3 separate regions of the Homo sapiens genome follow, and all the other regions are linked to region 2. The links are contacts of gene promoters, found by promoter capture Hi-C in blood cells and fetal thymus (Javierre and others, 2016). All regions are on one chromosome and are shown on one strand. The core of a region is centred on a gene start or on the middle of the fragment in contact, and the rest is flanking DNA. Distances in the headings are between cores, read along the strand shown.

Region 1 (2,700 bases), core at 107-2,606, 1.0 Mb before region 2:
GGAGGAAACAGCAACAAGGTGCCATCTTAGAAATAGGGAACGGGATCCTCACTTGACATGAAATTTGCAAGCACCTTGATCTTGGACTTCCCAGCCTCCCAAACTGTAAGAAGTAAATGTCTGTTCTTTATAAATTACTCAGTCTCAACTGTTTTGTTATAGCAGCAGAGACAGACTAAGAAGACGCCTGGTTATGAAAAATTTAAGTTGTTTGCTGTGTCTCCAAGGGTTGGGCTGTGTTATTTACTGGGTCAGCTAAAGTGAAAGAACACATTTTTTATGGTCTCCTCAAGTTGTCAAACTCCTATGGGATAGGTCACTATCCATAGGAGTTGATATGGTTTGGCTCTGTGTCCCCACCCAAATCTCATGTTGAATTGTAATTCCCAGTGTTGGAGGAGGAGGGGCCTGGTGGAAGGTGATTGGATTATGGGGGCAGTTTTCTCCCTTGCTGTTCTTGTGATAGTGGGTGACTTCTCACAAGATCTGGTTGTTTAAAAGTGTGTAGAATCTCCCTGTTCACTTGTTCTCTCCTACTGCCATGTGAAGATGTGCTTGCTTCCCCTTTGCCCTTCTGCCATGATTATAAGTTTCCTGAGGCCTCCCCAGCCAATGCCTACTGTACAGCCTGTGGAACTGTGAGTCAATTAAGCCTCTTTATAAATTACCCAGTCTCAGGTAGTTCTGTATAGCAGTGTGAGAATGGACTAACACAGGAGTCTCCCCAAAAAGGGATTTATCCCTTTGGGCTCTTTATAAAGATATATAGTCAATTGAGGGTATTGGGGAATTATAACCTTAAAACAGCCTAACCAGGAGCCCCCCAGAATAATTAACCTTGGTCCAGGGTTGGCACTGAAAACCTCGGTGCTGAATTCCACAAAGGAAAAGGATCCCAGTTACTACACAAGGGAGATGATCAACCTTAATGGATTGTAAATGTATTACCGCTTATGTTGTCATGACAGTCACAGTTATATGCCAAGAATATTTATATCCTCCTTTTCCAGAACAAGGACTTTTTTCTTCACTTATGTATTGTCCTCAAAGGGTATCATTATTGATAAAGTTAATCTAACATACCTTTATGTTATTTTTAGATTGGCTATACTAGATTGGGGGAAAGACATAATTAGATTGATGATCATTTCTAGTAAAGCTTGTATTTGTTATGAGGCATATGATAGCTAAATCACAACTATATAAGCTTAAACCAGTAAAGAGAGGAGTATGACCAACAGAATAACAGACAAAGGTATGTTAAGAGAATGTGACAGAAGAATCTTGTTTGGATGGTCTTAGGCCAAAGCTGCCTGTTTTGTGTGGTTATCTGCTTGTTCTGAGGCTTTTGGGTTGGCAGTCAATTTCTGCAGATCATTTGCTTCTGAAAGCCCTTCACAGAACTTTGGAATCTCTAATGGGTATAACTTTCTGATTCTATTAAGACCTTTTCTGTTTTTCCAGAGGATTGAAGTGATATGAGCAATAAGGGTTCATTTAAAAAGCAAAGCTTGTATAATTCAAATCATGAAAAACCATTCCAGCTTAATGTGTCCCTGTATTATTAGATAGATGTAATATCCTTGGTGGGAAACACAAACTCGAATCCTTTTTTAGCCATTTTAAGTGCTAGCTTTTTGACAAGGGAATGTTTCCATTCATCCAGAAAATAAATATACCATTATTACTGTATATAACACACACAGAATCAAGTAGTTATATACAATCCATTTGGATGTACTCAAAGAGTCTTTTAGGGTATGGTTCTAGTTCATACCCCACCTTTATAATTTTTCCAAATTAATTTCATTACAGATGAAACATTATCTGGCCACATCCTTTGCCATGCTAAAAAAGTTTCTATCAGTGATTAATATTGTGGCAAATTTTTTCGTTCTGTGATAGGTTGTTTTATAGAGGATTTTAGCAAGTGTCTATTTGAAGGTGTTTTTTTTTTTCTCTTATTTTAAGTTCAGGGGTACATGTGCAGAGTGTGCAGGTTTGTTACATAGGTAAACATGTGCCATGGTGGTTTGCTGCACAGATCATCCCATCACCTAGGTATTAAGCCCAGCATCCATGAGCTATTCTTCCTGATGCTGTTTCTCCCCCTACCCTGCCCCCTATAGGTCCCAGTGTGTGTTGTTGCCACTCATGTGTCTATGTGTTCTTATCATTCAGCTCCCACTTATAAGTGAGAACACATGGTGTTTGGTTTTCTGTTTCTGTGTCAGTTTGCAGAGGATAATGGCTTCCAACTTCATGTCCCTGCAAAGGACATGATCTTATTCCTTTTCATGGCTGCATAGTATTCCATGGTATATATGTACCACATTTTCTTTATAGTATAGATTGGCTATACTAGATTGGGAGAAAGACATAATTAGATTGATGATCATTTCTAGTAAAGCTTATATTTGTTATAAGAGGCATATGATAGCTAAATCACAACTATATAAGCTTAAACCAGTAAAGAGAGTTTACTCCTCTCTTTGATGGGCATTTAGGGTTAATTCCATGTATTTGCTATTGTGAATAGTGTTGCAGTGAACATACACGTGCATGAATCTTTATAACAGAATGATTTATATTCCTTTAGGTATGTTTCCAGTAATGGGATTGCTGGGTCAAATGGTATTTCTGCCTCTAGGTCTTTAAGGAATTGCCACACTCTCTTCCACAGTGGTTGAACTATTTACA
Region 2 (2,700 bases), core at 163-2,662:
TTATTGAAAATAAGATGTACTAATATGTTCGCAAGTTTAAGTAAAAGACAAACCCCATTATATTTCATTGAGAGAAGGATGAAATGAACGGAAGTAAACAGTGCTTTATTTCCAATCTCGAGAAACTAAAGGATACTCCCTGAGAAAAGAAAAACAACCTTTCACACTCAATTCACTTCATTCTCCTCCACTCTCTAAGGCTCTATTGTGGGCTCGCTCTGCTTAAGTTTTCTCCCTCATCATTTTCTAACATACGATATAGTTTACTTAGTATGTTTATTATCTGTCTCCACTATTATGTAATGCACCAGGGCAGAAGTTTTGCTTTTTTCATGGCAGCATCTAAAGTACTGACAGTACACAGCAGGTGCTCAATAAATATCTGTTGAATGACTAAAAGTGAATCATTTCTTCAGGAGAGACCTGCTCATGATATGCCAAATAGGCTGAAGGCTAAAGAATACAGTATAACAGCAGTCTAATACATATATATATATATATATATATATATATATATATATATATATATATATATATATATATTTGAGACAGTCTTGCTCTGTCGCCAGGCTGGAGTGCAGTGGCGTGATTTCGGCTCACTGCAACCTCCGCCTCCCTGGTTCAAGAGATTCTCCTGCCTCAGCCTCCTGAGTAGCTGAGACTACAGGTGCGCACCACCACGCCCAGCTAATTTTTTTGTATTAGTAGAGATGGGTTTTCACCATTTTGGCCAGGATGGTCTCGATCTCCTGACCTCGTGATCCGCCCACCTTGGCCTCCCAAAGTGCTGGGATTACAGGCGGGAGCCATCGCGCCAGGCCTACAAAATATTTTAATGTTAGCAATAGCAAGGCTCAGGTGGAGGCAACATCTAAGTTCATTATAAACAATTAGCGATGCATTGAGTTAAACAACAAAGAAAGCCTGAAATTCCACTAGCAATAATTCCGCATGTGTTACGGAAACACCTAGATGGGGACTGTTGCCGGGTTTGAAGGCTCCTCCGTTTGCTAAAACTTCCAGCACTAGAGAGTTTATTAAACTACTCCTCCAAAGCAATGTGCCCTCACTGGCCCCTCCCCTTGAGAATCAACCTCGAGATCTAGCATCTATTTTGCAAACGAAGACAGCAGGAACGGGCGGGCTAACCGTCGCAGTCACTGCCTCGGCGCTCCTCCCCCTCCAAGGCCAGCAAGTTGCGGCACTGGGGGAAATGGCCGCGGCGACAACTTCCTCGAGTTCTCTCGGGTCATCGTGAACTTGGGCACCGAAACGAGGATCCACCCCCTCCCCACCAAAGTGCGGGAGGGAAAAGAAGGCTAGCCAGCGAGAAATTTTGCCCCACAAATCCGCCAGCAGCAGTGGCGGGAAGCCTCAACGGCAGCGACCCCGCCGCTGGCCTCGTGCGCAGCTGGTCCCCACCCTCGCGCGGCGCTCCCTGATTGGCTGCTGGCGGCGGGACGGGGCGGGGCGGGATGGCACGTTGCCGCTGCGCCTCGGGCCTGTGCGGGCAGTCCTCCTTCACTTCCCCAAGTCCACCCTGACTGGCTTGGGTGCACAGCCAGGGCTAGAGTGTCCGGGTCCCGCCTGGGCCACAGGCGGGCCCTGCCAGGTCTCTCAGACCTTCCGGTCCTCGCTGACCAGTCGGGGAGTGGAGGCGTCGACCGCCCTGGCAACTCCTCGCCTTGGGCGGCTGGGTCGAGTTCGGCCGCAGGGAGCGTCAAAGACGCTGCCTAGCCCAATTTCGGCGGGAAAGCGGTTTACCTGCTCGGACTTCGCTGGGTGCCTGGCAGCCCGCCGCCTCCCGAAACATCCACGCCTGAGGTCCCCTGGCCCGTCTACACCCAGTCCAGGCCCCGTGGCGGCGCCTTTCTGACCCCCATGACACAGCCAGACGAGGTCTGCGGGCGGGTGGCTCCTGGCAGCGGTCGATGGGGCACCTGGCCACGTTTCTTCCCAACCAGATAGCGAGCGTTTGGGGCCTTCACCTCGCCCCTCCAAGCCCTCAGGGACAGGCTCCACGCTGCTCCTTCTCCCCGCTATCCCGCGCCCTGGGGCCCTGATCGCCGTACTCACCGGCCCGGACTCGGTTTCCATCTTCCTCTCTGCTCTTCAGAGACGCGGGGTAGGGAAAAGAAGCCTAAAGTTTGAAACCACCTTCACGCCAAGGCAGCAGCGCTGCTTGTCCTGCCTGGGACTCTCGCCCCCTGGCGGCGAGGGTGGCTGTGGCAGCTGCAGGGAAGCAGGCTCGGACCCCGGCCCTGAACCTGCCACCTGGCGGGTGGGGAGAAGCGGACTGCGTCGCCTCGGGTGGCAGGTGGCGGTGCGGGCGGGCGCTGCAAGCCGGAGAGGGGCGCGGGAGGGCGAGTTTCGGCTGTGGCCCTGGGACTCCGAGCCGGGGCGTCTCAGGGGCAGAGCGCACGGCACAGCGGGGCGGGCGTGGGGCGTGCGGAGCGAGGGCTCGGTTCTGGGACCCCTCTCGCCTTCTCTCAGACGGCTGGGGAGGAGAGAGCGAGCGGTCAGGCAAAGCTCCATGCACGCCTTCCCCTCTCCTCCACTTGAGAAGAGTCGGCCTCTGGGACTGGTGGGTTTCGAGAGGTTGAGGTGACCTTAAGGCTTTACTGAGGTAGAAGAAGCCGGTTGACGGGCGACTTCCGAAGACTGGTGTAAAGCGAAGAAGGTTCTAGAGTCAAACTCTGA
Region 3 (2,700 bases), core at 40-2,539, 1.0 Mb before region 2:
GAAAAGATAGATTTCAACTTAACCAGTATGCAAATGAAACAATTATTTTTCACATATCTGTTGGGACAAAAATATGAAGTTTGAAGCAAGCGTGGGGAAACAGGTATCCTCACACAACTGATACAGCCATTTGGGAGGGCATCGTGGCAGCATGTACTGTGTTCAAATGCATGTACCCTACAATCCAGGAATTATGGCTATGTACACAAGGAGGCACGCAGTTTTTTTCTTTCTCCCCTGGAGAGGCTAACTTGGTTCCTACAGGTCCTGTGCATCCTAGGAGGAAAACTTTAGGCCTTTCCATGTAAATTATCTGCAAGACAAACAGACCTTTATATTGTTAACATTGACACTTGCAGCAGAACTTCAGTGTGTTAGCGCCTTACCATCTCTTTTCTCTCGGGCTTACCAGAGAGACCCTCTAGGAAAACAATGGGAATAGGAAGAGAAAAGATATTGAGGAGAGGGGGAAAAAACCTATCCTGTTACTTAGCAGCTGAAATTATCAAGATATTTTTGGCCTTTAAAAATTTCCTAGAGTTAATGTGAATTGTTTTTCACTCATTCCAAAGCTGGCTTTAGTCTGCAACTCGAAGGTAAACTTTTTCGTTTCGTGGCACACAGAATACACAGCACTATATGTAAGGTATGCTGAGATGAATGGTAAAGGCTGCTCTGGGATTTGCTGGCTTCCCCAAGGCCTGACAGGTGATCACACTTGCTCCCAGCACAAAGTTGGAGCACTGTCTTTTTTTTTAAAATACTTTAAGTTCTGGGGTACATGTGCAGAACATGCAGGTTTGTTACATAGGTATACATGTGCCATGGTGGTTTGCTGCACCCAGCAACCCATCATCTACATTATGTATTTCTCCTAATACTATCCCTCCCCTAGCCCCCTACTCCACAACAGGCCCAGGTGTGTGATGTTTCCCTCCATGTGTCCATATGTTATCATTGTTCAACTCCCACCTATGAGTGAGAACATGCAGTGTTTGGTTTTCTGTCCCTGTGATAGTTTGCTGAGAATGAAGGTTTCCAGCTTCATCCATGTCCCTGCAAAGGACATGAACTCATTTTTTTACGGCTGCATAGTATTCCATGGTGTATATGTGCCACATTTTCTTTATCCAGTCTATCATTGATGGGCATTTGGGTTGGTTCCAAGTCTTTGCTATTGCGAACAGTGCCACAGTAAACATACGTGTGCATATGTCTTTATAGTAGAATGATTTATAATCCTTTGGGTATCTACCCAGTAATGGGATTGCTGGGTCAAATGGTATTTCTGGTTCTAGATCCTTGAAGGAATCACCACACTGTCTTCCACAATGGTTGAACTAATTTACACTCCTACCAACAGCGTAAAAGTGTTACTATTTCTCCACATCCTCTCCAGCATCTGTTCTTTCCTGACTTTTTATTGATCGCTATTCTAACTGGCATGAGATGGTATCTCATTGTGGTTTTGATTTGCATTTCTCTAATAATGGTGATGATGAGCATTTTTTCATATGTTTGTTGGCTGCATAAATGCCTTCTTTTGAGAAGTGTCTGCTCATATCCTTCACCCAGGTTTTGATAGGGCTCTTTTTTTCTTGTAAATTTGTTTAAGTTCTTTGTAGATATTAGTGCTTTGTCAGATGGGTAGATTGCAAAAATTTTCTCCATTCTGTAGGTTGCCTGTTCACTCTGATGATAGTTTCTCTTGCTGTGCAGAAGCTCTTTAGTTTAATTAGATCCCATTTGTCTATTTTGGCTTTTGTTGCCATTGCTTTTGGTGTTTTAGCATGAAGTGTTTGCCCATGCCTGTGTCCTGAATGGTATTGCCTAGGTTTTCTTCTAGGGTTTTTATGGTTGTATGTCTTATGTTTAAGTCTTTAATCCATCTTCAGTTAATTTTTGTATAAGATGTAAGGATGTAAGGAAGGGATCCAGTTTCAGCTTTCTGCATATGGCTGGCCAGTTTTCCCGAAACCATTATATTAAATAGGGAATCCTCTCCCCATTGCTTGTTTTTGTCATGTTTGTCAAAGATCATATGGTTGTAGATGTGTGATGTTATTTCTGAGGTCTCTGTTCTGTTCCATTGGTCTATATATTTGTTTTGGTACCAGTACCATGCTGTTTTGGTTACTGTAGCCTTGTAGTATAGTTTGAAGTCAGGTAGCATGATGCCTTCAGCTTTGTTCATTTTGCTTAGGATTATCTTGGCAATGTGGGCTCTTTTTTGGTTCCATATGAAATTTAAAGTAGTTGTTTCCAATTCTGTGAAAAGTCAATGGTAGCTTGATGGGGATAGCATTGAATCTGTAAATTACTTTGGGAAGTATGACCATTTTCATGATATTGACTCTTCCTGTCCATGAGCATGGAATGTTTTTCTATTTGTTTGTGTTCTCTCTTATTTCCTTGAGCAGTGGCTGGTAGTTCTCCTTGAAGAGGTCCTTCATATCCCTTATAAGTTGTATTCCTAGGTATTCTATTCTCTTTGTAGCACTTGTGAATGGGAGTTCACTCATGATTTGGCTCTCTGTTTGTCTGTTATTGTGTATAGGAATGCTTGTGATTTTTACACATTGATTTTGAATCCTAAGACTTTGCTGAAGTTGCTTATCAGCTTAAGGAGATTTTGGGCTGAGATGATAGGGTTTTCTAAATATACAATCTTGTCATCTGCAAACAGAGACAATTTGACTT

The links. The method cuts DNA at HindIII sites, captures the fragments that hold promoters and counts their contacts. A CHiCAGO score of 5 or more calls a contact.
Region 1: a contact is called between a fragment that was not itself captured here and the fragment with the promoter of BOLL in region 2, in 1 of 17 cell types (total B cells). The highest score is 5.4, in total B cells.
Region 3: a contact is called between a fragment that was not itself captured here and the fragment with the promoter of BOLL in region 2, in 4 of 17 cell types (total CD4 T cells, activated CD4 T cells, naive B cells and 1 more). The highest score is 8.3, in total CD4 T cells.

The regions. Positions count from the first base shown.
Region 1 is chr2:196,734,551-196,737,250 of GRCh38, forward strand. No RefSeq gene overlaps it. Among named protein-coding and RNA genes, the nearest start is that of GTF3C3, 64 kb to the right of the region's middle. The HindIII fragment of the contact is 303 bases long and covers 1,206-1,508 here.
Region 2 is chr2:197,783,907-197,786,606 of GRCh38, forward strand. It overlaps BOLL (boule RNA binding protein), which reads right to left and starts at 1,413. Exons shown (of 11, transcript NM_033030.6): 1 at 1,150-1,413. RefSeq lists an enhancer at 2,589-2,700. The HindIII fragment of the contact is 5,410 bases long and covers 1-2,700 here.
Region 3 is chr2:196,751,892-196,754,591 of GRCh38, forward strand. No RefSeq gene overlaps it. Among named protein-coding and RNA genes, the nearest start is that of GTF3C3, 46 kb to the right of the region's middle. The HindIII fragment of the contact is 3,642 bases long and covers 1-2,700 here.